Regions from separate parts of the Homo sapiens genome. Here region 2 is linked to region 1. Evidence: promoter capture Hi-C in 16 types of primary human blood cells and fetal thymus (Javierre and others, 2016). All regions are on one chromosome and are shown on one strand. The core of a region is centred on a gene start or on the middle of the fragment in contact, and the rest is flanking DNA. Distances in the headings are between cores, read along the strand shown.

Region 1 (3,892 bases), core at 1,393-3,892:
GTCCCAGCTACTTGAGAGGCTAAGGTGGGAGGATCGCTTAAGGCCAGGAGCTTGAGGCTGCAGTGAGCTATGATTGCTCCATTGCACTCCAGTCTGGGTGACACAGCAAGACCCTGTCTCAAAAAAAAAATTGTATTTTACAAAGTCTCAAACACACACACAAATAGAATAACACAATGAACCACATATATCCATTGCTGAGATTCAACAGTTTTCAGATACTGCCACGTTTGCCTTGTCTCTCCCTTTATTTATAATGTAAATCTCAGACTTGCCTACTATACCTGTGATATGTCAGCTTGCATCACTAAAAAGGAAACACATTACATAAATGCAGTGCTGATGTCATAACTAATAAAATTAACACTAATTCTTTGATATTATCAATTATGCAGTCCATAATCAGACTTCTTTTGTTCTTAGAAACGACTTTTTACAGTTGGTTTGTTCAAATCCAGATCAGATAAGTTTCACACATTAAATTTGGTTAAAGACCAATTTTTAAAACAGATGACTGTTAAAGAGCCACATGGGGAATCTTTTGTTGAATCTTCCAACAATTTTACTTTCTGTTCCCTGTAACACTCCTTTTTTCCCTTTCATTTCAAACCGGTTTTTTCTTTTTGTCGGTGGCGGGGAGGAGATGGGGTAGGGGGGCAGAGAAGAGAATTCCAAACTTGGCATATTACAATTAAGAAAGTAAAAGTTTGTTTTAGAAATAAATAGTTGAAATACCAACTTAGAGATTTGCTGGATCATATAATTAGAGTAGTCCAAAGAGGATCTTAGGAATTCCCTTTCACACTCAGCTGTATAGAATTCTCCTGAATCACTAAAAATAATGCGAGAATCATTTTGAGTATGAGGCACTGCTGTATATAACTAGGATAATTTTGCCTGAGATGTTCCAACTAAGTATTTTGATCAAACTTTATAGTGGAAATGGTAGAGCATGGCCATAAAAATTGTTTTCCCTAGGTTTTGCTTAATCTTGGTTTAAACCAGATTTACTAGTTTCCAGGATAAACTGAGAAATTTATATTAGACTTTTACACAATTTCCTAGACTTATCTAGAGAGGTATACTAATTACTTTTGTATTAAAGAGATTGCTGAATCTTTTGAATATTGCAGAGGAATTGATCTTGTCAATATTTTATTTTTTGAAAAAGATCATAGAGTAATATGAAACTCTTTGTATGACATTGGCATTCTAATTTGGTTTTAAAAAAATGCAGTTTATCAGAAGTCCCCATATGGTGCTTAATCAGACGTTATAGACAGAAAAGATGGAATCCTGTTTCAGAACCAGCATGCATAGTTGTGCAGATTGTATACTGTACCATGCATTAGTTGAGGCATTCATGCAAGAGTCAACTTGTGTATTAGGACAGTTTCTGGCTGATGGCAGTAAAGTGTCTGGAGGAAGGAGCAGCTATTTCTGTTTTTACAAAGACTTTGTAGGGGCTAGCAGTAGTACTGTGGCCTATATTTTCAGTTTCTATTTACAAATGAGTACTTGTTGAAGTGATTGAGAAGAATGTGTACATGATATCTCATTTTATGTGATATTACTGCATACTGTAGCACTCACTTATTGGCAACCTCAGTTATCTGTAACAGAGTCCACAGCCAAAATAAAGTAAAACTGGGCCAGTGAAGTGAAAATAAATTGTACAGTTTATGAACATCATATTTTACATTAAAAGAGTCTGTTAATTCTATATATGCAGCTCTAGCCCATTTATCTGTTTTCCAGTGCAATAATTTAAAAGCAGCAAGTAGAGGGGAGGAGACTGCTAGAATTAAATAGCTGGCAGAAGCAGTGAGTGAGAGCTGACATCCAGGTGACCAATGGTAGAGAAAGAAAATTTAGGAAAGGTAGACATAAGAGCCCAAACAAACACAAAACTACCATAGATTGGTTTCAGGTTAATAGATGAAGATGCATTTCTAGCTCAGAAGTATCAGGGGAGAGTACTGTTTTGCTGCAAAATGTAGTCAATGATATTCTTAATACTGATCCTGAGTCATCACAAAATGTTAAATGAGATATACAAAATCCTCTTTAATGAAAGAAGTTTGTAATATATTTTAAAAAGCTTTTTCTCAACTAAAATTTCAAATACTGTGGATGCTTAAAGAGATTTGAAGGCCTGGGTAGCATCTACTTAATGAAGTGTGCTGCTTAGATATCTTTGTTACCTATCGATTTCTCCTATGTGGAACATTACTTTTTCTAAAGATGCCAGATAAATTATGTTTTTGTGGTCTGATCACATTTAGGAATCTTGGTTTCTAAAAAAGGGGCTTGGGGTAAGTAAGAATATGAAAATAAGGCCTGGCGTGGTAGCACACACCTATAATCCCAGCTCTATGGGGAGGCTGAGGTGGGAAGATCACTTGAGGCCAGGAGATAGAGACCAGACTGGGCAACATAGTGAGACCAAAATAAAAGTGAAACAAATAGCTGGGCATGGTGGCACATACCTGTCATCCTTGTTACCCAGGAGGCTGAGGTGGGAAGATTGCTTGAGCCCAAGAGTTTGAGGTTACAGTAAGCTACAATCGCACCACTATACTCTAGCCTGGGCAACAGAGTGAGACCATCTCTTAAAAAAAAATTTGCTACAGATTTTCCGTTTGTAGTATCTAACATATAGTAAACACTCAAATATTTGTTGTCTTTTGAGGTACTTAATTCTTGCTTAAAAAAAAAAAAGTAGCTTATCTGACCTAAAATTTTAACATGTGAAAATTTGTGGTTGAAAAATCTCTGGGCTGGGTGGGGTGGCTCATGCCTGTAATCCCAGCATTTTGGGAGGCTGAGGCAGGAGGATCATTTGAGGCATGGGGTATGAGACCAGCTTGGGCAACATAGCAAGACTCCGTCTCCACTAAATAAAAAAAGAAATTACCCAGGCGTGGTGGCGGGTGACTATAGTCCCAGCTACTCAGGAGGATGAGGTGGGAGGATCACTTGGGCCCAGGATTGAGGCTGCAGTGAGTAATGTACATGTCACTGCACTCCAGCCTGGACGACAGAGTGAGACCCTGTCTCAAAAAAATAATAATAATCTCTTGACTTGTAAAAATATTATATTTTATATTGAATTATAGGCTGAAGACTTTAAGTGACAAGTCAAGAGAAGCAAAAGTGAAAAGCAAACCCAGGTAAGCTTGTGCTAAGATTTTAACTTAACTGTGACTTAAATTTCATACAACTTTTGGTGTATTCACAATTGTGTAGTTATATTAATGAACCTTAGATTTGTTGAGTGCATCTGACTACAAAATAATTTATCGATTCTTTCTAAATTTTGTAACAGGAAAATTTTCTAATAAAATCGTGAAATGGTTGAAAAAATGGTGAAGTATAATTGTTTTACTCTGACAGTCAATGAGTATTATTTGATCACAATTAGTCATTTTTAATTTGTATAAGAGCAAAAGTAAAAGTCCTGAATTATTGAAAAGCAAATTAATGATGAAATACTACTTGGCAAATGAGCCTCTTCAGCTATGTTACCTGTTTTGTATGAAAACACCAGGATTGTGCTGTTTGTCCATTTTTTTAATAAAGTAAAGCATGTGACCAGATTTCATTTTCAACCTAGAAATGAACTGTGATCTTACATATTTGTTCTTATCCAACATTATATTAAATAATTTATTGTATGCTGAAGAGAATCTCTGGGGCAAAATGATGGTTGATAGTGTGTTACATACAGTACATTAACTCTGAAATAAAACACATTTCTCTAAAAGTTTAATAATTGTCATTAGTGATTTTAAAATATATTACAATTGACAATGTCAAAATTCTTGTATGTACCTTTTTTTTTTTTTCAGTTGGCTAAATCAAGAACAGTTTTAATAAGTGTTTCTTTTGG
Region 2 (3,892 bases), core at 721-3,220, 1.8 Mb after region 1:
GACCGCTTGTGGTATGGTCATACAATGGAATACTATTCAACAATTAAAAGCAACTAATTACTGATACAACAGCATGGATGAATCTCATTGATATTGAAGTCAGACGCAAAGCAGAAGAAAGACACAAGGCAATGCATATTGTAGGTCTCCATTTACATGAAGTTCAAAAAAAGACAAAACTAATCTATGGTCATTGAAATTTGAAAATAGTTGGCCGGGCGCGGTGGCTCACGCCTGTAATCCTAGCACGTTGGGAGGCCGAGGCGGGCAGATCACAAGGTGAGGAGTTCGAGACCAGCTTGGCCAATATGGTGAAACCCCGTCTCTACTAAAAATACAAAAATTAGCCAGGCGTGGTGGCAGACACCTGTAATCCCAGCTACTCAGGAGGCTGAGGCAGGAGAATTGCTTGAACCCGGGAGGCAGAGGACACAGTGAGCTGAGACTGCACCACTGCACTCCAGCCTGGGTGACAGAGCAAGACTCCGTCTCAAAAAAAAAAAGAGAAAATAGTTGCCTTGGGGTGGTGGTGGATTGTCTGGAAAACTGGCACAAAATAACTTTCTGGAGCAATGAAAATGTTCTAGATCTTGACTGGGTGGTATATACAACTGCTAAATGTCATCAAGTTGCTAAATGACATTTATCAACTGCTAAATGTCACCTAAGTCTGTGGAATTTACTGTATGCAAATTATACCTCAATTTTTAAAAATTACAAAGGACTAACATTAAAGTTTGTGCCACAGTTTAATCGTTCCTCTAATGTTGTGCACTATTTTCCCATTTTTTCACAATCACAAATTATGATACAATGACTATCTTTTGTGCATATGTGAAATTACCAATATTAAGCATTTTGACCCATAAAAATGACAAGTTTGTATAGTCAAACCTAGTAGATATTTAATATTTTGGATTATTCCCATTATCCCCATTTTTAGTTAGGTGACTTGAGAAAAGTTTACAAATTTTTGTTGATACTCATTGCTAAACTGCTTTTTCTACCAATTTTATAAATGTATACTCCTTTTACAAAAGTGTCTTAGGTTGGTGCAAAAGTAATTGCGGTTTTTGCCATTACTTGCAATGGCAAAAGCCGCAACTACTTTTGCACCAACCTATGACTTGAATCCTGTTTTTCAGTTCTTCAAATTTTGATAGACACTTATCTTGCACATCCATATGCACGCTCCTCTCTTCCCAGCACTTTGTACATCTCTCATGGCTCATAACACATTCTTCCATCACGTATGTGTACACATATGGCTGTATAGGAAAACAGCTTCTGGAGGATAAGAACAATTTGTTTTGCGGTTTTTTATTTTTAATAAAATCTCCTAGCTTGGTGCCTTATGCATTTCATTTATTTATTCAACTAACATCTTCCAAATTCACATAAGGGACCAGTTATCTGTGAATGGTGTAACAGGCCTTCAAAAAGTCCACGAAACTAAACATTACCAGTTTCAAATATACCCGACAGGTCTCATTTTAACATTCATGCCCCACGTTTTAAGTTCCCAGATTGCTACCTTCCCATGTTTTTGGTGCTCTAATCTGGAAACAAAAACTCTGAAAATTTAGTTTTGAATGTATTATGTGAGGGCCTTTCCCTGGGCCCTGCTAATAATTCCTTAAAATGCTCCCCAGAACCACATGTTTGGGGACTTAGGATAATCAGTGAAATCTAGGGCAGCCTGTCGGTCTGAGACTTTTCACAGGACTCTGAAGGGCACCGGGGTAATTCCTTTTTAAGGACAGCAGTGCAGTGAAAATGCAAATCGTGACAGCAACAAGCTCCTTCCAGTTCCGGAGTGCCCGCAGGCTCCTCCCGGTCGCCGCCGTCGCCTAGCGAATGGGGTGGGGGCTCGCACGGTCCCCGCATCTCGGAGCGCCACGGCGGGCTCCTGCCGCCCCGCCCCACCCCACCCCCGGCGCGCGTCCCGAGCCCCGCCCGCGCGCCCGGCAGGAAAGGGCGGTCCTGCGCTGTGGCCCACGCTCGCTCCCGCTGTCGGACTCTGGGCCTGGACCGCGCGTGGCCGGCGCCAAAAGCGAGAGGCATGAGCGCGCGCCCGGGCCAGTGAACTGCTCGGGGATGGACTGCGGCTCGGTCGGCGGCCAGAGGACCCAGCGCCTGCCCGGCCGCCAGCGGCTTCTCTTCTTGCCCGTGGGCCTCAGCGGAAGACCGGGCGGCAGCGAAACCTCAGCACGCCGCTGCCTCTCTGCGCTCTCCGACGGTCTGGGGGCGCTGCGCCCTCGCGCCCCGGCGGCCCGCGGCGGCGTGTCACGTGCCTCACCGCTGCTCCTCCTCCTGCTAGTGCCCTCCCCGCGCTTGGCCGCCGCAGCCCCGCGCCGGCAGCTCGGGGACTGGGAGCGCTCGCGCCTCGGGTATGCCGCACCCCCGGCCGGGCGCAGCAGCGCGTGGAGGTGCTCACCGGGCGTCGCCGCTGCCGCCGGCGCCCTTCCCCAGTACCACGGCCCGGCGCCTGCACTCGTTTCCTGCAGGAGAGGTGAGGCCCGGGCGGGAGAGGAGAGGGGGCTCGTCTCGCGGGGTTGGACGGCGGGGCGGGGATCTCAGCTACAGCCTCCCCGAGGAAAGGCCCGGCAGGCCGGAGGGCGGGTCCTCCAAGGCCACCGGCATCTGCCCGGAGCGTGGGTCGAAGGTCCGGGCCCGCCCTGCTCGGCCGCGGTGGCGGGGCTTAGCCCAGAAGAGACGAATTCCTGGGAATCCCGGGCGCTAAAGTTGGAGGGAGGTGCGTGCTGGGGCGGGGAGTTGGTGCCCGCCCACTCCTAGGGTCTGCTTTTGGGCGCCGCCTTCCAGGAGTTCTGTTTGGCAGCGCCCAGCCTGTTGGGCGTTCAAGGGGAAGGGGTGTGTATGTTTGAGCAGCAAAGCTCTGGGAAATGAAGGGATTGCTTTACAGTTTGATTTCAAATTCTGATGGAATCATTAATTCGTGGAGTCCTAGCGTCTGCCCTGTCCCTGGCGCTTTTCTAGATGTGTGAGATATATCAGTCCACAAAATCTTCCCTCTGGAGCTTAATTCTAGCAGAGCAGACGCAGTAAATATGTGTGTGTGGATATACGTATGCATAATTGATGTATATATAATTTATATATACAAATAATTTTTATATATTCGTAATTCGATGCCTGGTATAGAAAAATAGGATAAGGCTTGGGAAGTGGAATGGGTCTCCAGTTGTGAATTTAAATAGGGTGATCAGAATCGATTTCATTGAGAAGGTAGCATTTAATTAGAGTCATGCATCTCTTCAGGACAGTCGCCTACTGAGAAATGAGTCATTAGGCGACTTCTTCCTTGTGTGAATATTGTAGAGTGTGCTTACACAAACCTGGATGCTACAGCCTACTACACACCTAGACTATCAGGTAGAGGCTAGTGCTCCTAGGCTACAAACCTGAACAGCATGTTACCGTACTGAATACTAGAGGCAATCTGAACACAATGGTATTTGCGCATCTAAATGTAGAAAAGGTAGAGTAAAAATATGTATTATAGTCTCATAGACCACTGTCGTGTGTGCCCCTCTGTCCTGGGCTGAAAGGTAGTTGTGGGGCTCATGACTATTTAAAGGAGGTGAGAGAGATCACTGCCCTGGAGATGAGGAAAGTAAATAGAATCAATTTATTAGATAGCATATTGTTGATTAAAGAAAAAAATCATTTCTGATAATCAACAGACTTGGCAAAATTATCACTTTGGGCAGTCTATACATATTCATTAGTAGCCATCACTAACTACACATTTTTCATATTTTCTTCAACAGATAGGCCCACTAAATGTTGACCATATCTATAATTTAAGAATATCATTGGCTGGGGTAAAAACTGATTAGTAGAGCAATAAAGTGAAGGAAACTTTATATAC

The links. The method cuts DNA at HindIII sites, captures the fragments that hold promoters and counts their contacts. A CHiCAGO score of 5 or more calls a contact.
Region 2: the fragment with the promoter of MCUR1 here is called in contact with a fragment that was not itself captured in region 1 in 1 of 17 cell types (total B cells); the score reaches 5.5 in total B cells.

What each region holds. Positions count from the first base shown.
Region 1 is chr6:15,651,368-15,655,259 of GRCh38, reverse strand. It overlaps DTNBP1 (dystrobrevin binding protein 1), which reads left to right. Exons shown (of 10, transcript NM_032122.5): 2 at 3,120-3,173. Among named protein-coding and RNA genes, the nearest start is that of DTNBP1, 9.7 kb to the left of the region's middle. The HindIII fragment of the contact is 1,077 bases long and covers 2,104-3,180 here.
Region 2 is chr6:13,812,635-13,816,526 of GRCh38, reverse strand. MCUR1 (mitochondrial calcium uniporter regulator 1) reads left to right here and starts at 1,970. Exons shown (of 9, transcript NM_001031713.4): 1 at 1,970-2,512. The coding sequence starts at 2,098. It overlaps LOC107986571 (a long non-coding RNA gene), which reads right to left and starts at 2,717. Exons shown (of 2, transcript XR_001743986.3): 1 at 2,438-2,717. RefSeq lists an enhancer at 1,503-1,602 and silencers at 1,763-2,032, 2,113-2,782. The HindIII fragment of the contact is 5,544 bases long and covers 1-3,892 here.